4 separate regions of the Homo sapiens genome follow, and regions 1, 2 and 3 are each linked to region 4. The links are contacts of gene promoters, found by promoter capture Hi-C in blood cells and fetal thymus (Javierre and others, 2016). All regions are on one chromosome and are shown on one strand. The core of a region is centred on a gene start or on the middle of the fragment in contact, and the rest is flanking DNA. Distances in the headings are between cores, read along the strand shown.

Evidence for each region. The method cuts DNA at HindIII sites, captures the fragments that hold promoters and counts their contacts. A CHiCAGO score of 5 or more calls a contact.
Region 1: a contact is called between a fragment that was not itself captured here and the fragment with the promoter of PIK3CA in region 4, in 2 of 17 cell types (total CD4 T cells and M0 macrophages). The highest score is 5.5, in total CD4 T cells.
Region 2: the fragment with the promoter of TNFSF10 here is called in contact with the fragment with the promoter of PIK3CA in region 4 in 1 of 17 cell types (non-activated CD4 T cells); the score reaches 5.7 in non-activated CD4 T cells.
Region 3: the fragment with the promoter of NCEH1 here is called in contact with the fragment with the promoter of PIK3CA in region 4 in 1 of 17 cell types (M0 macrophages); the score reaches 5.3 in M0 macrophages.

Annotation. Positions count from the first base shown.
Region 1 is chr3:169,764,355-169,767,717 of GRCh38, forward strand. It overlaps ACTRT3 (actin related protein T3), which reads right to left. Exons shown (of 2, transcript NM_032487.5): 2 at 2,567-3,363. The coding sequence ends at 3,078. It also overlaps TERC. Among named protein-coding and RNA genes, the nearest start is that of ACTRT3, 3.5 kb to the right of the region's middle. RefSeq lists enhancers at 87-176, 335-874, a silencer at 387-646 and promoters at 638-1,504, 638-1,142. The HindIII fragment of the contact is 3,023 bases long and covers 1-2,762 here.
Region 2 is chr3:172,521,563-172,524,855 of GRCh38, forward strand. It overlaps TNFSF10 (TNF superfamily member 10), which reads right to left and starts at 1,868. Exons shown (of 5, transcript NM_003810.4): 1 at 1,691-1,868. The coding sequence starts at 1,822. It also overlaps the pseudogene TBPL1P1. RefSeq lists an enhancer at 1,800-1,849. The HindIII fragment of the contact is 8,260 bases long and covers 1,373-3,293 here.
Region 3 is chr3:172,709,301-172,712,478 of GRCh38, forward strand. NCEH1 (neutral cholesterol ester hydrolase 1) reads right to left here and starts at 1,767. Exons shown (of 5, transcript NM_020792.6): 1 at 1,547-1,767. The coding sequence starts at 1,684. RefSeq lists enhancers at 1,219-2,418, 1,548-1,817, 1,739-2,033, 2,078-2,217. The HindIII fragment of the contact is 17,687 bases long and covers 1-3,178 here.
Region 4 is chr3:179,146,908-179,149,785 of GRCh38, forward strand. It overlaps PIK3CA (phosphatidylinositol-4,5-bisphosphate 3-kinase catalytic subunit alpha), which reads left to right and starts at 1,450. Exons shown (of 21, transcript NM_006218.4): 1 at 1,450-1,696. It overlaps PIK3CA-DT (PIK3CA divergent transcript), which reads right to left and starts at 1,066. Exons shown (of 3, transcript NR_125401.1): 1 at 1,009-1,066. RefSeq lists enhancers at 165-274, 885-1,004, 1,814-2,313, 2,875-2,878 and silencers at 1,495-1,964, 2,025-2,074. The HindIII fragment of the contact is 3,906 bases long and covers 1-2,698 here.

The DNA.
Region 1 (3,363 bases), core at 1-2,500, 9.4 Mb before region 4:
GGAACTAAGTTGTAATACAACCATAAAAGGCAACAAAAAGCGGAAGACGGGAGAACCCACGCAGGAACGGCTCCAGGCAACCCCGGCTCACTGCCCATTCATTTTGGCCGACTTTGGAGGTGCCTTCACGTCTCCTGCCAATTTGCAGCACACTGGCCCAGTCAGTCAGGTTTGGGGGTTCACAAGCCCCCATTGCCGGCGAGGGGTGACGGATGCGCACGATCGGCGTTCCCCCCACCAACAGGAAAGCGAACTGCATGTGTGAGCCGAGTCCTGGGTGCACGTCCCACAGCTCAGGGAATCGCGCCGCGCGCGGGGACTCGCTCCGTTCCTCTTCCTGCGGCCTGAAAGGCCTGAACCTCGCCCTCGCCCCCGAGAGACCCGCGGCTGACAGAGCCCAACTCTTCGCGGTGGCAGTGGGTGCCTCCGGAGAAGCCCCGGGCCGACCGCGGCCTCCAGGCGGGGTTCGGGGGCTGGGCAGGCGACCCGCCGCAGGTCCCCGGGAGGGGCGAACGGGCCAGCAGCTGACATTTTTTGTTTGCTCTAGAATGAACGGTGGAAGGCGGCAGGCCGAGGCTTTTCCGCCCGCTGAAAGTCAGCGAGAAAAACAGCGCGCGGGGAGCAAAAGCACGGCGCCTACGCCCTTCTCAGTTAGGGTTAGACAAAAAATGGCCACCACCCCTCCCAGGCCCACCCTCCGCAACCCGGTGCGCTGCCGGGCGAGTCGGCTTATAAAGGGAGCGGCCGCCGACCGCACGGATTGGCCAAGCTGACTCTCGCGGCTCTCGTGAGAGTCACTCTCTCGGGCGGGCTGGTTGGGGGGAACGGGAAATTAAAGTTCCATTTCCGGCCATGAGGAAGGACGTTGCCCTTCCGCACGTCCGGGAAAGGCTTTGCGTCTTTACTTCCGACCTTCTTTAAAGGTGAAACTAACTTGAGGTATCAGAGGGCCTTTTTTCTATCCTCTGCAGACCAGACGCGGTTCACCTCGACTACCTTAAAAATGGAATTCACAGGAAGATTTTAGGGCCTAAGACACAGAACACTAATTCCTAGTTTTGATCATCACATTTTTTGGAGAACTTTGTGAAAATAGATTCCCAGGCAGCACTGACTACAGCAGAATCTTGTCTCGGCTCAGTGGGATGCGTCCGAGTTCCTACCCTGCCCCCTTCTCCTTAGAATGCCTTCTCCAGCCTCTCCTTGAGCAGAGGATGGCTTTAATCAAGTGTAACTACTACATTATTAATCTTAAGGACTGAATCTCCCTTTTATTAGGAAAGAAAGGCGTTTCAATCATTGACTTTGCTTTAAAGTAGTGCTGTGTCTTGATGAGGTAAAAAGAGGGGAGTAATCCACCATAAATTGTAACGATTTTTTTTTTTGAGACGGAGTCTTGCTCTTTCGCCCAGGCTGGATGGAGTCTAGTGGCGTGATCTCGGCTCACTGCAACCTCTGCCTCCCGGGTTCAAGCGATTCTCGTGTCTCAGCCTCCTGAGTAGCTGGGATTACAGGCGCCTGCCACCACGCCCAGCTAGTTTTTGTGTTTTTAGTAGAGACGGGGGTTTCACCATGTTGCCCAGGCTGGTCTCGAACGCCAGGGCTCAAGTGATCCACCCGCTTCGGCCTCCCAAAGTGCTGGGATTACAGGTATGAGCCACCGCACCCGGCCGCGAATTTTTATAATGGCCAGTATAGTGCAGTTTTACATATAAATGACAGGATGATCTTAAAAGTTTTACTCGTATTCAGTTAGATAAACTCCGTGGAGTTGTCGCTGTCGGTCCTCGATCTGAAAGAAAAGTAAAATATCTCCCTCTCCATCTCTCTCCCTCCTTCTCTCTCTCCCATCCCCTTTTTCTTTCATAGCATCTGCCAGGTTGTAAAGTTTTTTACGGACAGAATCTGACTCCTGTTTTTAGCACTATTGCACTTAGCACAGTACCTTACATAGAGTAGATGCTAAATGCTTTGAGTTATATGTCAACACTACCACCATTCTCTTAGCATCCCACATTATCTCAAACCCTTCTTTCCCCTTCATATCTAAGTAGGCACTAAATCTTGTCAGTTTTCATAATTTCTTTTTTTAAATTCCTATTGCTTATAATCTTGAGTACAAGACTTGGCACTTTATATGTGGACTAGTAACTTTCTAACTGATCACCAAATCTCCAGGGCCTTCCTCATTCAATTTATTCTCCAAACTATCACATTCATCATAACATAGTTTCCTTATGGCTCCTGCTTTTAAATCTTTAATTTCTCTCCTTTGCATATTGGATATTTAGCACTTTAAGCCTTTCAGTCCCTGGCCTTCACTTAACCTTGCTAGTCATAGCGCTTGTTCTGCTCTATATGAGCTCTTGACTTGAACAAAATCAGTCTAAACTTAGGCGTGGTGGTGCATACCTGTGGATTCAGTTACTTGGGAGGCTGAGGGCAGAGCCCAGGAGTTGGAGGCTGCAGTGAGCTATGATTGCACTACTGCACTCCAGCCTGGGACACAGGGCAAGACTCTGCCTCTAAAACTAAATAAATGAATAAATACATACATAAACAAAAATTTTAAAAACAAAATCAGTCTATTAAACATGCCCTGAATATGCTTTGTTCATTCTCATCTTTAGCAACTTGTTCATTTTAGTATGCTTGCCTGGATATCTGCGCTCCATCCCAATGCCACCCCTTCCATGATGGCATACCTCTGCTATGGAGTCTCGTTCCTCACCACAGCAACCTTCTTTCCCTAAACTTCAATAAGCTTAAATCTTATCACTCATTTGGCACATAGCATATTGTACCACAAATGCTCTCTTCCAAGGGAAATATAAGCTCACCAACGTCAAGTTATAGAAGAAACACTATGGGAAACATTATTTTAACTTGGTTCTACTCAATAGACATCTGTTCTTGAGCTTCACCATTATTATCCCCCAAACCCATTATAGAAATACAACAGAAATATTGGCATCCCAATAGGTGAAGTATTTTCTCTTCTCCCAGAAACATATAATATCCAAAGTTTTCTGTCACATATACTCAAAACATTTTCTTCCAACCATTTTATCTGTATTTCAGAAGCATCTTTGGTGTACTATGTTGGGTCCAACTTCTTTAAATTCTGCAGCAGTGATCCACATGTCCTGGAAGGCAGACAAGGATGCAAGAATAGAACCTCCCATCCACACTGATATTTTCCTTTCTGGAGGAGCTATAACTTGCACAGCGGTGTTGGCAGGAGCCACCTTTGCTATATCCTTAACTAACCGCTTGTCTAAACCAGGGAAAGAGGTTGATCCCCCGGCAAGGATAATATTGGAAAAGAAGGAATTCCTCAGGCCTGTATCACATTTCATTATG
Region 2 (3,293 bases), core at 618-3,117, 6.6 Mb before region 4:
AGGATGTGGAGAAATAGGAATGCTTTTACACTGTTGGTGGGAGTATAAATTAGTTCAACCAGTGTGGAAGACAGTGTGGCAATTCCTCAAGGAACCAGAAATACCATTTGACTCAGCAATCCCATTACTGGGTATATACCCAAAGGATTATAAATCATTCTACTATAAAGACACATGCACACATATGTTTATTCCAGCACCATTTACAATAGCAAAGACTTGGAACCAACCCAAATGCTCATCAGTGATAGACTGGATAAAGAAAATGTGGCACATATACACCATGGAATACTATGCAGCCATTAAAAAGAATGAATTCATGTCCTTTGCAGAGACATGGATGAAGCTGGAAGCCATCATTCTCAGCAAACTAACACAGGAACAGAAAACCAAACACTGCATGTTCTCACTCATAAGTGGGAGTTGAACAGTGAGAGCACATGGACACAGGGAGGGCAACACACACACTGGGGCCTGTCGGGGGTGGGAGGCTAGGGGAGGGAGAGCATTAGAACAAATCCTAATGCCTGTGGGGCTTACAACCTAGATGATGGGTTGATGGGTGCAGCAAACCACCATGGCACATGTATACCTATGTAACAAACCTGCACGTTCTGTACACGTATCCCAGAACTTAAAGTAAAATAAAAAAATTTAAAAATAAAGAAATCTGTTTGCCAGAATTCACAAAGAGCAATAGACCTCATGTGAGTTATGAATCTGAACTTCATCCTGCTGTGTGCTATTGGATAAAGACTCTAAGAGCTACATTACAGATTTTTTCGACAGGAAGTATCACAGTAACAAGGCCCTATTTAAAGGCTGTTGCTACTGCTGTGGAACAGATTTACCCATTTGTGTTTGAAAGCAGGAAAGAAATTTTATCATTCACCACTTAATTGGTTAGAATCTCTTACTGTGCACCTTTTAAAACCTGCTGCACATTGGACTCAAAAGGAAAACTGAACCAACGGTAATTGAGGAAATAGACTCTTTTATTTATTCATGGCTACAGTGTAAGCTCCAGTCCCTTTGGATTTTATTCCAAACCTTGTTATAATATAAAAAAGGAAGTTTACAAGACATGTCATTGCTGCTTTTACAAAAGGACATTCTATTTATTTTCGCAGGAATTCTCATGTCCCCATAAGCAGAGCTGTCACAGTGTGCACTACCTTAGGTTGTTTTATTGTTGTCATTGTTATTTTTTTCCATTTTGAGCTAATGTGTTTTATCTGTGAATAGTCTTTTACATTTTTGTATGCTGAAAATGGGCACCAAAGAACCTGTAAAAATTATCTTTTTCAATTGAATGTGCACAAATAAAAGTTTGGAAAAGGAAAACAAAAGAACTACAAAGCATTTAGCAGAAAGCTTTCATGAAGAGTTGCAATGGCTGATATTATAAAATACACATACTTTTAAAAACAAAAAATCCCTCAGGAGTTTTGTTGCCCACATCTGCTAGTAACTAGTGAAGCCAGTTGTGTAACTGCACTTAGTTTACACAATTTCTTGAACTTACAGTTTTGCAAAGACCTCAGTTGTTATGTGATTTAGCAGTTAGAGTGTACCCACAGAGAAAGGAAGCAGGAAAGTCTTCAGAGAGGGGCAAGCTGACATGCAAAGAAGCAGGTAACCAGACATTTGCTAAGCGCCTCGAAGACTGAGTGCACTGCACTGCACTGACCTGCTTCAGCTCGTTGGTAAAGTACACGTAAGTTACAGCCACACAGAGAGACTGCAGGAGCACTGTGAAGATCACGATCAGCACGCAGGTCTGTCCCAGGCTGGGTCCCCCCTGGACCTCCATCATAGCCATGATCCTGTCAGAGTCTGACTGCTGTAAGTCAGCCAGGCAGCCGGTCACTGAAGCCCTTCCTTCTCTATTCTTTTATAGTCAGTGAGGAAATGAAAGCGAATGAGTTGTTTTTCTGGGTTCTGTGGCCTTGGCCCCACCCACATCTATTGAACCTGCAACTGTCCCTCCCCTTTCCTACTGCCCAGGGACAGCTCTTGTCTCAAAGTAGTCGTTGGAAAGGAGGGAAACTGAAAGAAGCTCCTCTCCTTGCCCTCAGGATCCATGCACCCCTTATCTGCACTCACCTCAAGCCCATTTCTCTCTTCTCTTTCTTGCTCTCCTTTTGATAATGTCCTCAGCCAAAGAGGGGAGGGATTTTCTTTGCTTTTCCCTAACATATCCTCATTCTACCACAGAGCTCTAAGCCTCATGGCCTGGCTGTCATAGGCACAAGGCCTGTTTTCTAAATTATAAGATAATTTTTATGACCTGAAACTTCCATATGTGGTTTTTCTCATGCTACTGTGAGGGTGGGAAGAGGGCAGGGTGGGAGTGGATAAAGGAAAATAGAAATACTGTCTCATAGCAATGGTCTTGCTACATAATTCCATCTTGAATGTCAGAATCTAAATATTGACGACTTCTTCCTCTTTGCAAACCTTCAGACACAAATTCTAATCTCCTTCTCAGATCTCCATCCCTACCAAGACAACATGCCTGTGTGTTAGGCTGGACAGGTAGGAAGTAGTTGACACACTCAGAAAGGCAAAGGAAAAAAACATGTGGATGTTTTCCAAAATATTAACCCCATCACAATGTCTCGCTGTCACTATCCTTTTACAGATTAGGAAAAGAAGTTACAGGGAGTTAATTACCCTCAGATTCAGGACCCAGCCCCAAATCTCCCCACTATCAGATGTCATAAGCTGGCCCAGCTGTATGTTGTCTCTATATCTTATTCAGCATTTCTTTCTTTCCTTTTCTTCCTTTCTTTCTTTCTTTCTTTTCTTTTCTATTCTTTCCTTCTTTCCTTCTTTCTTTCTTTCTTTCTTTCTTTCTTTCTTTCTTTCTTTCTTTCTTTCTTTCTCTCTTTCATGTATTTATTTATTTTTTTGACAGAATCTCACTTTATCGCCCAGGCTGGAGTGCAGTGGTGCAATGGCACAATCTCGGCCCACTACAACCTCCACCTCCCAGATTCAAGCAATTCTCCTGCCTCAGCCTCCCAAGTAGCTGGGATTACAGGTGCATGCCACCATGCCCAGCTAATTTTTTTGTATTTTTAGTAGAGATGGGGTTTTACCATGTAGGCCAGGCTGGTCTCGAACTCCTGACCTCAAGTGATCCTCTTGCTTCAACCTCCCAACGTGCTGGGATTACAGGCATGAACCACTGCATGGGGCCATTGTTTAGTTATTCCATTCTTGACCCACTGAGTCAGAGTTTCTGGCAGTGGACTTAGGAACCTACATTTTTCAGCAAGTACTCCAAG
Region 3 (3,178 bases), core at 517-3,016, 6.4 Mb before region 4:
TGTTTTCCTCTGTTTAAGTTATTGTAGTAGACCATTAACCCACCCAGGTAAACATCACTGTTCCTCAATCTTTGAAGGGTATTACTTTCAAATTACATAATTTCATGGGGGAGGAGAGGGAATGCAAGGCTTCCTACAACAAGACTGACTTTCTTGACACCAGTGCTAAAGAAGGGGATGATCATTTTCACCATGTCAACATTATAGGAAGCAAGAGGAAAAGAAGGGGGGCAGGGGTCTATAGCTTCATAGACCTTTCCTAAGAGACAAAAGGGGCTTTGGAGGTGAGAATGTGGCTGAATTCAGGAAAAGCAAATCCACGCTAGGAATGTGCTGCAATATCCTAGTAAGGGGACTTTTCATAGGATAAAGCCCCACAGATTATGTAATCCTACACATAATGAGTGGACAGGGAACAGGAACATAAACCCTCTGGGAAAATCATGACTTTTTTAAAATCAGCTTTCTCAGGTTGAAATGATTTTTTTTCTCTTTCTCTAGTTGTCATTTCTGAAAGAAAGAGTTTATAAAAATATTCTGAGATTAAAGCCCAAGGTTGTGGGGAGGGAGGAGGCTTGGTTTTGGAGAAGGTTAGAGTTTAGATAGAGCAGGCTGCTCAGAAATACTGTCCAATCAGAGGGCTCAGCCTTGGCTGCAGACTGTAGTTTAGATTTTAGATTCTCTGACACTAAAAATAATGCCTCTTACCATGGAATAAACCAGAGACAGTTATATTTTCCTGTGTATGGAAGGAATGAACACACGCCCATGATACAGTGGAGAGAAATGTTACCCTCCCAGGTTAAGGCAGGTAACCTCGCTCAGGAAAAGGTTATCTGACAGCCAAGGACATAAAATAAATGCTGCAGGGCAAGCAGAAAACATGCATCATGCAAACCAGGGCTGCCGCCTCCTCACCTCCTTTCAGCCAGCCCAGCCTCCCAGTCCTCTTTCTTGGGCTGAGCTGAGATCTGCCTCGGGTGAAACGAGAGATCCCTATGGTTCCTCAAGTGCTTGGATGGAGAGCCCTGCCTGCTGTCTCCGGGAACGGAGCGCTCCACAGCCTGGGGACATTGCGAGACTGCCCTTGCCTGCTTCTGCTTCTAAGGTGGCTGCATTCCCAGGAACCAGAGCCTGCTTTTCCCGAGCTCTCCTAAAAATATTTATCCTCTGCCGGTCCCTATGGGAGAACGACAGTGTGAAGAAGGGTGGTTTATAAACTGCTTAAGGATTTGCCTTTTGACGTTGCAAACCAAGGAAGAGGAAGATATTTAGGACAGACGAAGGTTTAAACAGTTGTCAAATTCTATTCAAGCACTTCTTCCCCGTCACAAACGCAGACGGGGAAATGCAGATCTAGCCCGCTGCTAGCAAGGAGGCGAATGCGATACCCTGAAAATTCCCGACTGGACCACCTCAAAAAGCGACAGCCTCAATGCATTAGGAAAAACCTGCGTTTTCGTGGAACCCGGCGGAGGAATTTTGTATCCCCTTCAAATATTGCGTAAGAGGAGGAAGAGAGAAGCAGCGCTGGGCTGCACCTCACCACTTGCTGTGCACCCCGGAAAGTGGCGTCCAGCAGCATCAGCTTCCAGGGGTCGGACACGGAGCCAGGCAGCGGGATGTAGACGTAATAGGCGGCCAGCGCCACCAGGGCGGTGAGCAGGACACAGGACGACCTCATCTTGCCCTGGCTCGGCTCGCCAGCGGGCTGGCAAAGAGGAAAGGGCGATACCACCCGGAGACCTCCGGCAACTTTCTGCCCGCGGCAGCTGCTCATTCACGCGTTTCTTATAAGCCCAGGAGCCAATCAGAGGCTGCGTCGGGAGGAAGTTGGAGCGCGGACATGCCCCCTCTACGGTGTCCTTGCAAAGTGTGGCAGTCACTACAGGTTTGAGGAAGGCTCTGTCGCTGCTCTGGCCGTAGGCACAGCGGACTCTGGAGGACACTGGTTTGTACTGCATGCGTGTGAGGATGGCTTTCCTCCTGGAAGGTCTCAAACGGAAAATAGTTTCAGTGTGACGAGTCTCTGGACAAAGCAAGTGGGTCATTCTGACTCAGAGTACTGAGAAAGGATATAAAAATTCTGTTTTCTGGAGCCAGACTTGGAGTGGTTTGTAAGTTCTAGCTGATATATGGCAAAAGAAGATATTAAATTCTTCTGGCTCAAGCAATGAAAGGCCAGTAGTACATCTAGCACCCAAGTCTTGGTTTCTAAATCCTATGCTCCAATAAGAGGAACCACGGCTTTTTGACACAACCTCTGGAGAAAAGGCTGATACCAGGGCTGGGGCTGTAAAGTACAAGATGAACCTGTTGTGCCAGAGATGCGGAAGTGCTCAAAAAATGATAGGAACTGGTCAAAGGTCCACAGCTGCCAGCTTGAAGGGTCTCCCAGTGGCTGAAGCTGGGATAATTTTACCATCAATATAAATCATCATAATGGATAACCCATTGATTAAAATAAAACTCAACAATCTATATTAATATAAATAAATGAGGAAAGAAGAAAGGCTTTTCTTAAAATAGAATGCCAGCTAGTATCCATAGAAAATCATAAATGAATGCTAAAACTAGAGGGTAAAAATTTGACACAGAATTTTGGTCCTTCATCAGAAGATCTCTCCACAAATTACTACAAAGGGAAAAAATAATAACTTTTTATTGGAGAAACGTGTGGATATCACCTGAAAAATTCTTTCAGTGAGTCAATGGTAGCAGAAATACACTTAAACCCAGATTTCTTGTTAATGATTGGGGGTGAGGAGGGGTGGGTGAGTACTGAATGGGAGAGAGAAAACTTCACTAGCAAAATTTCAACCAGAAATCCAGAAGGAAAACAGTTAGAAGACCTGTTTCAAGAAAGTGGTAGGATGACAACTCCAAACTTATTGATGAAGGTCTTAAAACACCTAGTATATATAATTATGCATCTTAAGATGGTAATTTTAATTTAATCAAATTAATAGAAGTGAAATAACCATAAATTTGGTTCTGATAATGAGATTTTTAGGAAACAGTTGGCTTCTTCTTCAACATTGAAGGAAAACTGATAAGAAGGGCACACTTTCATGGTATTTCAAGCAAGTTCTCTCTCTCTTTTTTTTTTGTTTTGTTTGTTTTTGGTGTTTGTTTTTTGTTTTTTTTGAGACGGAGTCTTGCTCTTTTCGCCCAGGCT
Region 4 (2,878 bases), core at 200-2,699:
TGTACTCTGGAGTAACAGTGTTCTAAAACTGTTGAAGAACATTGGTTCGAGAAAAACATTTAGAAACACAAACCCCTGGAATGTGAGATGAAAATCCGAGCTAAAGGGAGAAAAAGGACGAAAGAAAGAAAACACAGAAAAGAAAGAAATACAGTCAAGTGAAACTACGACCACAAAGAGGAACAGATCCATCTCATTTACCATTGGGGTATGGACGGACGTGCGGTGTTCGAGAAGACTGTTATTGGTCAGAGTTTTGCTCTAGAGGACAAGTAGGACTGTAACATCTCTAGGATGGGTCACTTCCCAAGCCCTCTATTACTTAAAAATTCAAGGAGGAACCGATGCTGGAGTACTTGTATCTCAGACTTCTAATCACTGCTCCTACGCTTTTCCAATATTACAACAAAAGACCAGTAGGGGGAGAAAAACGCACAGTACCGAACCCTTATCAGTAGTAATCTCAAAAGTCAACAGATTGATTTACTCTCAAGCAAACAGACTTCTAAGGTACGCAGCACCAAGACACTACCTTGAATCAAATCTATAGCCTATATGACATTTCTGAAGTCTCTGTTGGCATTACGCGAAAAATCCCCCACGTCTTCTGAATAGTTAGAATTGAATCCTACAAGCTGCTTCGAATCAGAATTCGATTTAAAAAAAAAAATGAGGGCATAGCAAAAGGTCTCCACGAAGTGAGTCAAAGGACTGCAGAGGGCTGTGACAGTGCATTCCGCCTTCGGGATGGTATACAACTTAAACCATGTCGGCAGAAGAACGCACAGCAACGCTTTGTAAAAAGCATTCTTTCTATTATAGAATCCATAACCACGCTGGTTAGCCACTGACAGCGGCGGTTAGCCACCGCACCTCCTCTCACCCCCGAACTAATCTCGTTTCCTCTATGGGTGTAAAAGTGAAATAACCCACTTGCTCCCAATATTCCTTTCTATATCTCTACCCCAGCTCGCCTGCTGCTCGTAGAAACAAATATACTACACGTACGCTGTCCTAGGATGACACAACACCCTCACTACTGCAGAAGACGGATCATTAAACAAACGTCAGAAGAGCAGCCCCAACTGTACATAAACTTCGGGCGGAAAAGCAAGACGCAGGCGCAGTAGCACATATTGTTACCCTATTTGCCCACTCCCTGCTCCTCCTCGCCTCAATTTCGCTTCCGCTTCTTTGCGCATCTGCTTCCGGGGGATTGTAGGCTCTGCCCCTCCTCAGCTCTTACCCTCTTCTGCCGGAGGAGGGGGGGGGCCGAGGGGGTGGGGAAGAGTTCGTTGTTTGTTTACACGATGTGAGCGGAAAAAGAGACCAATAAAGTTTATTCTGGAAACAAAAGGAAAAAAAAACAGGGGCGACGGAGAAAGGAGTCGGGGGCGGGGGCGTGTGGCGGGGGCTAGCGAGGAGAGGGAGCGAGAAGTAGAAAGCGGCAGTTCCGGTGCCGCCGCTGCGGCCGCTGAGGTGTCGGGCTGCTGCTGCCGCGGCCGCTGGGACTGGGGCTGGGGCCGCCGGCGAGGCAGGGCTCGGGCCCGGCCGGGCAGCTCCGGAGCGGCGGGGGAGAGGGGCCGGGAGGCGGGGGCCGTGCCGCCCGCTCTCCTCTCCCTCGGCGCCGCCGCCGCCGCCCGCGGGGCTGGGACCCGATGCGGTTAGAGCCGCGGAGCCTGGAAGAGCCCCGAGCGTGAGTAGAGCGCGGACTGGCCGGTAGCGGGTGCGGTGGGAATGGGGACCGGGTGGGTGCCGGAGACTCCCGGGCGCGCCCGCCGTGTTGGGCGGAGGCTACGGGCTGGTCGTCTCCCAGCGTCGGCCCGCGGCGGAGTTCGCCTGCGATCGCCGCACCCTCTCCCTCGCCTGCCTCTGGCCTCTCCTAGCTGCAGAGGCGAGGGCTCGCCGCTCCCTCTCCTTTCTCTCTGGCTGCCGCCTCGCTCTTCCTTTGCTTCTACTCCCAGTTTTGGGGACGGGGCGGCTGGAGGTTGAGGAAGTGCGCCCAGGGCCGCCGCCCCGGCCGCGGTGGCTCTGTCTCCCGCGCCCTGCACGCCCACCCAGCCCGCGGGTGGAGGGGCTGCCGCGAGGACTGCGGCTCAAGGGACGCGGGCGCGAAACCGCGAGCTTTTCTTGAGGGGCTGTCACGCCCGAGGACTCCGGCCCCGCCAGCCTGGCGGCCCTGCGTTTGCCTCTTACTGGGTTTAAATCGCCCGGCAGGGGTATGGAAGGAACACCGCTCCCCTCACCCCCGCCAGCTCCCCTCCCACCCTTCCTTTCGAGGTTGTTTTTTCCTTTTAGCTGAGACAAACGCTTAGATCTTTCATTCATAGACCTGAGACACTGACTCATGTGACTTGTCTCTTTACTAAGTGTATTATGTGATGCCTGTTCCATGGCTCTTAAGTGGCTCGGAAAGGTAGGGTAGGGCCCGGGATTGGGCTATGTAAACACCAGACGTTCAGCCGGCGTGTTTTTGACCTCGGCTCGAGGGGTTTATTTTAGGATGCTAAAGGAATAGTGATGGTGGCCAACCGTGTTACCAGACTTGGGAATCGAAAGCTATTTTTTTATGTCAATAATTGAGACTGTTTACATGGTTAAATAAAGGGTAGGGTAAAGGGAGCGCAACAAGAGGGTCTTTCTAGAAAACAGTCTGCATATTCTTTAATGAATTAGAGTTGTGATTTCATCTTGGTGAAGCTTCCTCATTCCAGCACTGCGCCTTTGTGCACATGCAGGACCTGGGTTTTCGGAACGATGTTTTGAATCATAGTTTGTGTGGCCGGGGAGAACCCCTTAGAATACTTGGGTAGGTAAATTCCAGGTTATCTCAGGGGATTATTTCTACTGCGACTTTTGAACCACTGAGGGCAATATT